Regions from separate parts of the Homo sapiens genome. Here regions 1 and 3 are each linked to region 2. Evidence: promoter capture Hi-C in human tissues and cell types (Jung and others, 2019). All regions are on one chromosome and are shown on one strand. Each heading gives the region's core, a stretch centred on a gene start or on the middle of the fragment in contact. The rest is flanking DNA. Distances are from core to core; before and after follow the strand shown.

Region 1 (3,788 bases), core at 935-3,434, 520 kb after region 2:
TTTGGAACTTGAGGGCAAGGGCCTTTGTTCTGCCTTCTAGGGTATAACCAGCTCTGCTCCTGCTTCATTAATGTCTATAAGTTTGTTACAAAGACAGAAACTGACAGGAAATGAATTTAGGGTAGGGGGCACTGACACCCAAAGGGAAGTCACTGTGGACAAGACCCTCTGGGAGGCTGGCAGAGATTGCTGCCACGTGGCCATGGCAGTGTGCGCTGTGAGATGATCCCAGATGTCTGCACAGAATCCCTTCCTGGAGGTGGAGAGGGTTGACACCCTTGTAAAACACAGGGAACAGACCTGCTAACCTCATTTAATGCCTTCACACTCTGTAATGCCAGAAACTAATATTAATATCAAAATACAAGTTTTAAAGTGTGTCAGAGATGATGTTCATGCAGAATGTGAAGAAATTAACATATTGAGAAGGAAACTGAAGAACCAAGGGGTCAGTTTCTCTCAGCATTCACAGAAATCTTCCTGCACATCCCATCTACTCCTGAGTATGTACATTTCCACCTGATTGCCAGCTCCCCCAGGCGAAGGAGTTGTTTCTGCTAATCCCCCATCAATGCATCATGCACACCGCTCTACATCATTAGGCACCTGCCTTTCTGTGAGTGATGGTGATAAAAATGAAACTAGCCAAGTATGTGTGGATCATTGGGTAAAAAGGGTACTGCAGTCAGGTTCTCGGGATTTCCCTGGGGACTTTTGTGGTTTGGAGGAGCTGTTTCTGTAGTCTGTGCAAATACTGTGATGAGGCCCACATCAGATGCTGGGGGGAAATGTGAAGCACCTCATGGCAGTAGCATCACAGTGAGCTCATTGATGAAAAAAGAACCCAACAAAATCCCAGTACTCCTAAAGCTATACTTTGTCCAACTTTTACTTAGTACTTAAAAAAAAAAAAGAATGGTTTTATGTGGTGTTTAAACTGGGCTGTGTATCAAAATTCCCTGGTGTAATTGAAGTACATTTCTGATGGACATTGTTTGAAGGTCTAATTTTGTAGTTGCATGTTGTCTGAACTACTGTTGATGGCCATGAAGCCCTGGTTCCTGAGCCTTATAAATAACTTTGGTCTGCCCATCCTGTGCCATCATCACTTCCATTGGATCTGCTCACTTTGGTGAGCTATGAATGGAAAAACTCTTCCCAAGTATCAAGCAATTATATTTCTCCTTACAAACAGAAAGTGTTTTCAGTGATCTTTATGATAATCTGAGTGGGTTTTCTTGGATTCATGCCCAGCAAGTTTATTTTTGTGTGTAGTAGGCTGATTTTCTGATTTTTCTGTACATTTCTTTGTAGAGTTTACCGAACTGTTTATCTTTGCTGACAACTTCAGCTAGGTCAGAGTTTGTGTAAATTCAGTGAAGCTTTAAAAAAGCCATGATCTAAAGTTCCCTAAGATCTTTATTGCTGACTTTTAGAGTCATGATTTTGTCACAACCTTAGCTGAGCCTGTCTCGGGAATGGAAACAGCAGCTGAATTGTGTGTTTGCATACCCGAAGCCCCAGACCATTCTTGCAAAGCCTCCATTATTTGTCTTTGTAGTCTCAGAAGCTTTGCATTTATGGATTCATTGTATCATCATTTTATGGCTATTTGGAGTCTCTGATGATGTTCTAATTAAATGCCCATTTCCTGCTCACCACTGTTTTATACCGCTTAAAATGCCAACTTCTCCCAGTGTATTTTTGGATATGTGAGTAATGGGTTGAATCAATAGTGTTATTGGAAATTAACTGTTTTTAAGGCTAATGATGTAAAGATTAAAAACATTTCCCCAAGGTCAGTTTCCTTATATTTAGAATGCATACACACACACATATATATAGCTGTATGTATTTTGATATAGACTAATCGATCACAGAATTCAACTGGATATCTCACAAAAATGATCCTGTCTTACATCCATACCATGGCTGCTACTCAGTAATAAAAAGCAAAAAATGATTGGTACATGAAATAACTTGGATGGACTCAAGGGCCATATGTTAGTGAAAAAAGCCAATCTCAAAAGGTGTGATTCTGCTTATATAACACTTTCAAAATGACCAAATTATAGAGGTAGAGAACAAATTAGTCGTTGCCAGGGATTAGGTATGGTGGTGCTATGGTGGGGTGGAATTGGGTGTGATCACAAAGAGGAACATGAGTGATACTATTGTGGGGATGTAATAGTTTTGTATCTTGGTTGTGTTGGTGGTCAGATTAATCAACATGTGAGAAAATGGCATAGAGTTACACACACACATTGCACAAATGTCAGTTTCCTGGTTTTAATATTACTATGATTATGTAAAATATAACCTTTGGGGGAACTGAGTGAAGGGCATGTAGGACTTCTTTATACTAGTTTTGAGACTTCTTGTGAATCTAGAATTATTTCAAAATATTTTATTTGAAATGGGCCAATAGTTTTAGAGAGCCCTAATAAAAATGAGCCTTTTCTTACCAATCAATATCGGTAATAAATGCAGTAATTGACTCTCAGAGCTAGAAAAGACATATAGTATTCACACATAAGTACCAGAATAATGTGGCAGCCCAAGTCTTTTTTTAAAGCTGTTTATAGCTTCTAATCTTGGCAGCAGCTTATTATTTTTGAAAATGTATTAACTACCATGGGCACACTTGTAAAGTGATATTCATTGCTCACAACAGTATCTTTGGTCTTCTGTATTTTGAAAGTTTACCACTTTGGACAGTAAGAGTCATGCCAGCAACATTCCAGCAGTCCTTCAGACAAATCCGTTAAAAAAATAGACATGGCTTTTAAGCAGAAAATTGAAACTGGATCTTTTCTTTACACCTTATACAAAAATTAACTCAAGATGGATTAAAGACTTAAATGTAAAACCCAAAACTGTAAAAACCCTAGAAGAAAATCTAGGTGATACTATTCAGGACATAGGCATGGGCAAAGATTTCATGACAAAAACATCAAAAGCAGTTGCAACAAAAGCAAAGATTGACAAATGGGATCTAATTAAACTAAAGATCTTCTACACAGCAAAAGAATCTGTTATCAGAGTGAACAGACAACCTACAGAATGGAAGAAAATTTTTACCATCTATCCACCTGACAAAGGTCTAATATCCACAATGTACAAGGAACTTAAACAAATTTACAAGAAAAAAACAACCCCATTAAAAAGTGGGCGAAGGACATGAACAGACACTTCTGAAAAGAAGACATTTAGTGGTGACAAACATATTTTAAAAAGCTCAATATCACTGATCATTAGATAAATGCAGTTCAAGACCACATTGAGATATCATCTCACACCAGTCAGAATGACAGTTATTAAAAAGTCAAGAAACAACAGATGCTGGTGAGGCTGTGGAGAAATAGGAATGCTTTTACACTGTTGGTGGGAATGTAAATTGGTTCAACCATTGTGGAAGACAGTGTGGCAATTCCTCAAAGACCTGCAACCAGAAATACCATTAGACTCAGAAATCCCATTACTGGATATATACCCAAAGGAATATAAATCATTCTGTTAGAAAGATACATGCACACGTATATTCATTGCAGCACTATTCACAGTAGCAAAGACATGGAATCAACCCAGATGCCCATCAGTGATAGACTGGCTAAAGAAAATGTGGTACATATATACCAAGGAATACTATGCAGCCATAAAAAGGAACAAGATCATGTCCTTCGCAGGACATGGATGGACCTGGAAGCCATTATCCTAAGCAAACTAACACAGAAACAGAAAAACCAAACACTGCACGTTCTCACTCATGTGGGAGCTGAACATTGAGA
Region 2 (3,957 bases), core at 1,185-3,684:
GTAATCTATAAACATCTTCACTCTAAACCCTTCTCATCTCCATTACACTATCACTCGAGATGAAATTATTACTATTTTTTGCCTCAGCTGCTTGCCTTTAGTAGGTGGAAGCCTTTACTCTTCCCCATACAGAGCCAGGTGGATTCCTATAAAACATCAATACAGTCACATTACTCCTCTACTCTCAAAAAACCTAAATTTTGTTCACCACCGACAAGGCTTTGCAAGATCTGGCACCTAGCCTCCTTTCAGCTCTCATTTCCTATCACTTTCACCCTTTCTCACTGGCTACCTAGTTTGCTATCGGGGCGTTTCTCTTGCTCAGCTCTGCCTGGAAAACTTCTCCCACATATTCACAAATGGCTCACTCCCTCACTTCATTCAGTTCTCTGCTCAAAGGTCACTTCTTCAGAGAGGACTTCCTTATTCTAAAAAAAAAAAAAAAAAGCTTCCTTTATTGCTCACTTAGGCTTTTTTAATACAATCATGTCATTATTTGACATTGCACTATATTTGACAGGATATATTTATCTGTTCTTTGTCTCCCTAAACTAGAATGTCAGTTCTAACAATGCAAGCACCTTGTCTGGCTTATTTATCATTCTATCCTTATTGCTTAAAATAGTATCTGACACGAGATAGGTGCTTAATAAATATATTTTTGTTAAACAACTGTATGGATATACACTTTAAATAATAAATTATTAATCAATAATAATTATTTGATATTTGCATTCCTGCTTATTTTTTTCCTATTATGAGCAAGCATGCCATAAACATATGTATGTTATCCATGCCAGAAACATGTAAAAAACCCCTATATTTGTTTTCTAAGATTTTGGAGTCAAAAAATATGGTTATTTTTACAGTTTTTGATACATAGTGCCAAACTGCTCTCCATCAGAAAGTTATGTTTTATATCACTTCAGAAATTAATGAAAGCTACTTTCTTCTCACCTGGAAAGACAATGTGCATTTTCCCTTTTAAACACCTTAATACGTGAAAGATAATTAAGATTTACCTTTTTTCAATTAGTAAAGGACTTTTTATATGATATTATCTATTTACACTTCCTTTTTTTGTATGAATTGCCTCTACATGTCCTTTGCTCATATTTCTGATTTGCCTTTATTCATTGGTATGAACTCTTTGTACATTAAAGCTACTGTTCCATTGTTTAAACCATGTTAAAATGTCATTTTTCTGTTTGTGATTTGCCTTTCAATTGTGATTACTATATATTTTAAAATTTACTATATGGACATTTAAATTTTATACAGTCAAGAGACTCAACACCTTTGCCCAAGCTGCATCGCAATCAAATTTAAGAATGTCAATTCGTTATTTAAAAATGTTAATTATACATTTTAATGTACGCTATCAAAATATCTCATGTAACCCATAAATATATACACCTACTATACACCCATAAAAAATAAAAAGTGATAAAACCACAGAAAAAAATGTCAGTTCAATCAAAACAAAGTTGATTATCACTCTCAATCAAGGTTCGCATCTGGAAGATCGAGAACTGCACGTCAGAGTTCTCTTGGAAAAGCTCTAGGAATCCTGGGCTTCCAACGAGTTGAAGGAACATAGGATGAAACCATGGAAGTCTTCCTCAGATCTGGGGAGGGAGCCTGGCCCAAGAGCCCGTGGAGCTAATGAAAACAGGTAGTAGGGGACGCTCTACAGTAGTCCTCTCAGTTATTCAATTAGAGGTCCCAATTTTGAACGATATAACTGGGATTTCAATACCCTGAGTGATTTAGACACATCAGAAAAAAATACGACAGAAAACTATAGTTTCTTTACAGCCTTAGAAAAGGAAAACGCGTAATTTCTAACTCCAGGAGGACAGTATTCGAGTACGTGGGTTTCTTTCACCCCCGACGTGCACTTCAACTTTTAAAATGCTTGCTCTGGTGGTCCACAGTACTTTCGCGTTCACTGGGCGGTACCATATCTCTCAATAGATTTGATCCAAAACCCCAAGTGCGGGAGACAAAGCTAGGTGGAACGTTATTAACCCTCCACAACTCCAACCTCTACTAGCTTCCTCGGAGCAGGCGAGGCACCAGGCCCGTGAGAAAACACTGAGATCTGGGGCGTAGCTGTGACATGGGGTATTTCTGGCCGGGATCTCACCGGGTAGGCTCCACCCGCGGGTTATCGGCTCCCTCCAAGAAGCATCTTTGAACTCCTCCCATGCAGGCCCTATTCCTACACCAGTTCTCTTTCTGGAATCTCTTTGGTACTGTGTTTCATTAATCCCACAACCATATTCCCACCTATTCCCTAACGACAACAAACTTTTAAGGTCCAGGTTACCGCCGCGTCTCCCTAGCAACCGTGCCCTTTAATGGTTGCCGGAAGAGGCTATAATCACGTGCTCCGAAGACTTCCGGGTTTCCAACGTGACTTCCGGTTGTCAGAATTTACCCCTGACGCGGCGGCGGCCGACGGGAAGCTGTGTGTGCTTAGGTCGTGGTGGCCCCGGTGGTGGTGGGCTCCGGGCGGGCTCGCGTCATCCTGCCCCCGCTGCGATGCATCCGCGGCGCCCGGACGGATTTGATGGCTTGGGCTACCGGGGTGGTGCCCGGGACGAGCAGGGCTTTGGCGGCGCCTTCCCTGCAAGGTCCTTCAGCACCGGGTCGGACCTGGGCCACTGGGTGACGACTCCCCCAGATATCCCCGGCAGCCGCAACCTGCACTGGGGCGAGAAGAGCCCGCCCTACGGCGTGCCCACCACCTCCACCCCGTACGAAGGCCCCACGGAGGAACCCTTTTCCAGTGGCGGCGGCGGCAGTGTGCAGGGGCAGAGCAGTGGTGAGAAGCATGGGGACCGACACAGGGATGAGGGGTTACTGGGGCCGCGGCTTGCGGCCTGCAGACCCCGGAAGCGGCGCAGAGGATCCCGCCTCCTATTCCTTCTCATCCTATCGCGCGCCACACCCTTTGCCCTCCTTTGGTCCTCTGCCCCTGAGGCTGGCCTCCTCTTCCTCACAAACGAATTCTCCTGGATCAACTCCAAAAAAGACATCTGCCTTAGCTATGGGGTGCATAGCAGGAATTTTTAGAGGTTTTGGTGTCTCAACTGATGGTCTGAGTTAAAAAGGAGATTGGATTATTAACTGTTCCCTGATTCACTTTGGCAGCTCTATTTTCTTGATTTAATTAATTAATTAATGTGTTTACTTGTAGTTTTGTGTTCTGAAAAGAGAAGCCTTTCAGCATAAGCATACTTGGGTTCAAACTTGGTTGTGCCACTCGTAATCTGAACAACTTAACCTCTGTGAGCCCTCAGTTTTCTCATCTTTAAGATGTGTAGAAGAATCCTGTATGGGACACATAGGCTAAAAAAAAAAAGTTTCCTTCCTTTTCCTTTTTGAACACAGGAGTTTTGTCTGCTTTTCAGATCCCCAGTCTAGAAAGTTTCCTTCCTATAATTTTCCTTTCTGCTTTCCTTCTGCTGACCTAAAAACTACATATAAAAGTTAGAAACACTGATACAATTTCAAGATAGGACTTCGGAATCATGACATAATTATTCTCCATGGGATGTCAGAAAAGCTGCAACACTGCATGATGTAGATATTTTCAACATCCTTTTTTATTCATAAAATGTGAATAATGGCTACCTCTTTCTATTCTTCTGGAATTGTTAGAATAATAGATTAATGGTATTAATATTAAATTTATTGTAGAAATCAGCTTTATTCTTATTTCCTCGACTTTGACTTGGAAGTACAATAATATTTAACTAAGAAGAACAGACTAACGAATGTCTAGTGAGTAAATGAGGATGTGAAGAAAGATAGATGACTTACCTAGCTAATTGTCATACAATTAGCTTTTTGACTCTTCCCGGTTTAAAGTTATGCTTTGGTGGTTACAATGAGGAGGAGTTCCTTGACACAAGCAGGGGTTTATTTTGCAGCCTTAACAGGTGGGTG
Region 3 (3,777 bases), core at 1,232-3,731, 890 kb before region 2:
CAGGCTGGAGTGCAGTGGCATGATCTCAGCTCACTGCAGCCTCTTACTCCCAGGTTCAAGCGACTCTCCTGCCTCAGCCTCCCAAGTAGCTGGCACTACAGGCGCACACCACTACACCCAGCTAATTTTTGTATTTTTAGCAGAGACACGGTTTCACCATGTTGGCCAGGCTGGTCTCGAACTCTTGGACTCAAGTGATCTGCCCACCTCGCCCTTTCAAAGTGCTGGGATTGTGGGCATGAGCCACTGTGCCCGGTCTGTTTTTGTATTAGCCCACTCTCACACTGCTATAGCGAAATACCCAAGACTGGGTAATTTATAAAGGAAAGAGGTTTAATTGACTCACAGTTCTGTATGACTGGAGGGGTAGCCTCAGGAAACTTACAATCGTAGAGGAAGGGGAAGCAGACAAGTCTTACATGGCTGCAGGCAAGAGAGAGAAAAGCCCAGGGGAACTGCCATTTATAAAACCATCAGATCTTGTGAGATCTCCCTCACTGTCAAAAGAACACCATGGGGGGAACCACCCCCATGATCTAGTCTCTGCCCACCAGGTCTCTCTCTCAACACCTGGGGATTACAATTCAAGATGAGATTTGGGTGGGGATACAAAGTCTATATTAGTTGTCCTCATAAGGAATTGATCCATACCTATTAAGTTTGTTCCCTATATATTGGTTTAATGTATGATCTAATAATGGGCCCTTGTAAATTTCAGGAAAACTCTTCCTCTATATGTGTGTGTGTGTATACCATTATACATACACAGACACACATGTATACATATACATAGGTATATCTATTCAGAAATGGGCAGGTATATATTTAATCAAAATTTTCATGAAATGTTTCAAATTGTAGTAAGGAAATTGATTTATACAATCTTATCAGGTTGTCAATTCTCCAATTTAATAGAGCACTTTTGATTGTTACCTAAATCTCTGTTTTCTGAGTGTATGTGTTTGATAACATATCTTTGAAATACCATTAAAACCATGAGCATGTTTTTAAAACAAGTGTTTTAGAAATTTCTGGCTGTGAATAGAAATAATTTTACAATAAACACTTTGATTTTCAACTGGGGGTGGGTGAAAAAGATTTTAATAATTTTCTCTTCTATGATTTCCTGCAAAAGTTAAATTTAAACTTTTTCCAAAACATAAAAATTGCAGCATACATTCTGAATTAGCATGTTAATTCGACTACAGCCATTTGGATTCCAGATAAAATCTCAACTTCATGGTGATTCATTTTTTTATGTACAAAAGAAAGTATTTTCTTAAAATTATACAAAACCAGTTATTTGTATTTTTGGGTGTAGACATGAATGAGAAACTTAGTAAAACCGAATAACTAAAAATGTGAATTTTCTTTTTGAGGATGGAACGTTTGACTAAAAAAGAAAATATTACTTTTAAGTCTGTAATATTTCTGCTTTTAAAATTGACCATTTTTTAAGCTTTGGATATAGTAGTACTTGGGCAAAACTAGGTATCTAGCTCCACCAGTGGGGAATCGGGGTAGCAACAACACGATTGTGGTAGTTTTACATTTTTTAAAATAAGTTTACATTTACAAGTTAATTGGGTTTGGAAAGGAGAAATAGAGAATTCTTTTAAGGTAGCTTTACTTTTTTTTTTTTCTTTAAACATTTTACAGTTGTAGCTTTATCAGTTTATTAATTTCCCAAGGCTGCCATACAAATGGAATCACGTAAAACAACAAAACTTTATTCTTTCACAGTTCTGGAGACTAGATTTCTAACATCAGGGTGTTGGCAGGGCCATATTCCCTCCAAAAGCTATAGGGAAATAACCTTCCTTGCCCTTTCCCAGCTTCTAGTGGTTGCCTATGCTTGGCATTCCTTGGTTTGTGTATGCATCACTCCCATCTCTACCTCTTTTGTCATACAGCGTTCTCCCTATGCCTCTTGTATCTGTCTGTCTGTGTCCAAATTTCTCTCTTCTTGTAAAGATGCCAGTCATTAGGTTAGGTCCCAACATAATCCAGAATGACCTCATCTATTTCTGCAGAGGCTGTATTTCAAAATAAGATCACATTCATGGGTTGTGGGTGGACAGGAATTTGAGAGAGGGAGGCATTATTCAACCTAGTACAACCAGTAATTTGAGGGAGACATTGCAGGGTTGCTGGGAAGATTAAAGATCACATTTGTGAAATACTCCGGACCATGCCTTTCGTTAATGGGCACTTAATACATGTTAACTATTACGGTAACTTTGTACCTCTTCTTTTCTTCACTTTTATATCCAACTTTCATGAGTTTAAATGAGGAGATGACATTTTTATGTGGTATCATTAAGATTCACTGATAATAGGGTTCTGAGCTTAGAGTCAGTCACTGTGACCCAGATGGGCTTTGGGGTTACCGACAGTCTTTCTCAAAAAGTAGAGTCATATTTCAAACATTCAGGTACTAGGCTGCAAGGAATTGGAATTTGGAACTATCTACATTGAAACTAATCAAAAAGAGTAAGCACTGAATGGTTTTTAAATATAAATATGCATTTGATTTTAACATAATATCTTAGAAGATTTGGTGCAGAGACCTGTGGTATTTATTAAAACCAATTCAAGAATAATAAGAGATATTTCTTGAAAGGGGATAGAGAGGTATTATACTTAGCATTCATTACAAAAGCAGTTTGTTAGATTTAGATGAGAAATGAATACTTAATACCTTTATAATTTGTTTTATGCAAATATTGGAGAGCTAGAAGACTTTTAAGCATTTTTATTCTGAATTTAAATAGGAATGCCTATTTTAAAAATCTGGACAAGTTCTACCTTTCCCACCTAAAAGTTGTTTTCTAATATCCTTGTGGTTTTTCTTCATATTGTTTTAAATAATGTTTTAATTTTTAAATTATTTCTTCCACTGAATAAAAAGGAAGCTTTGTCTTTTTCTCTTGGGAAGAAAAATCACCTGTCCTCAAGTTTTTAAAAGAACATATGTAAATATCACTTTTTGTAGATGGAATTGTTGTGTTTTATAGATTCAACCTAGAATGACACTGAGCAAATTGCCTCTTCAAGCAAATGTCTATCCCATGACCACAATGGCCTATATCCAGGATGCCAAACATCGTTTGACACTGCTCTCTGCTCAGTCATTAGGGGTTTCGAGTTTGAATAGTGGTATGTATTGCTTACACTCTTTTCCACTCTGAAAGGTTTCAATTCCAACTGTATACTTTTTCTGTTGGTCAGATGTGGTATAATCTCTAGTTAAAACCTCCCTGTCTTCTTTTCAGCTTTTTTCTTTCAACAACCAGACTATTAGTTAAGTTTGGGTTTTGTGAGAACAACATAAAAAGATGAATCTCCTAAATCTTCAGATGAAGAACAGGAGACCTAAAATTCCATGTCAAGATTTCTTTTTAAAGATAATTTGCTTCTCCTAATAGTATGTATTTTGCAGAGGTCTCCATCATCATTATGATTTAACGGATGTGGAAACTCAGATTCAGAGGTTTAGATAAGTTGCCTACGTTTGCAAAGTTGGGAAGTTGTGGTTCAAACTTAGGTCCTTTTCTGAATCATGGTCTTTCTATTCTGCTACCACCTGAAAGAAGGAAGGGAGTAGAAATGATAGAGATATGGGGATAAAGAGGTGTGGCTTTGAGGATTCCAAAAGAGAGAAAGTGATGCGCAGAAAGTGAGAGAAAATAGTCAATAGACACTGATTAATTTTTGCAAGTCTTTCTATTGAGAGGCTTTGATCCTTTATAATACATATTTTTAATTGGTTATCAT

Evidence for each region. Contacts are between HindIII fragments. The study calls those that stand out against the background at their distance.
Region 1: a fragment that was not itself captured here is called in contact with the fragment with the promoter of SLC25A46 in region 2 in 1 of the 25 tissues and cell types used here (mesenchymal stem cells).
Region 3: a fragment that was not itself captured here is called in contact with the fragment with the promoter of SLC25A46 in region 2 in 1 of the 25 tissues and cell types used here (dorsolateral prefrontal cortex).

What each region holds. Positions count from the first base shown.
Region 1 is chr5:111,254,161-111,257,948 of GRCh38, forward strand. The region is part of intron 1 of CAMK4 (calcium/calmodulin dependent protein kinase IV); the gene reads left to right. Among named protein-coding and RNA genes, the nearest start is that of CAMK4, 32 kb to the left of the region's middle. RefSeq lists enhancers at 239-328, 549-818, 979-1,028. The HindIII fragment of the contact is 7,063 bases long and covers 1-3,788 here.
Region 2 is chr5:110,736,573-110,740,529 of GRCh38, forward strand. SLC25A46 (solute carrier family 25 member 46) reads left to right here and starts at 2,435. Exons shown (of 8, transcript NM_138773.4): 1 at 2,435-2,830. The coding sequence starts at 2,548. It also overlaps a transcript of TMEM232 not described here. RefSeq lists enhancers at 2,018-2,067, 2,318-2,447, 2,458-2,527, 3,772-3,957. The HindIII fragment of the contact is 7,779 bases long and covers 1-3,957 here.
Region 3 is chr5:109,842,848-109,846,624 of GRCh38, forward strand. It overlaps MAN2A1 (mannosidase alpha class 2A member 1), which reads left to right. Exons shown (of 22, transcript NM_002372.4): 18 at 3,018-3,159. Among named protein-coding and RNA genes, the nearest start is that of LINC01848, 38 kb to the right of the region's middle. The HindIII fragment of the contact is 5,832 bases long and covers 1-3,777 here.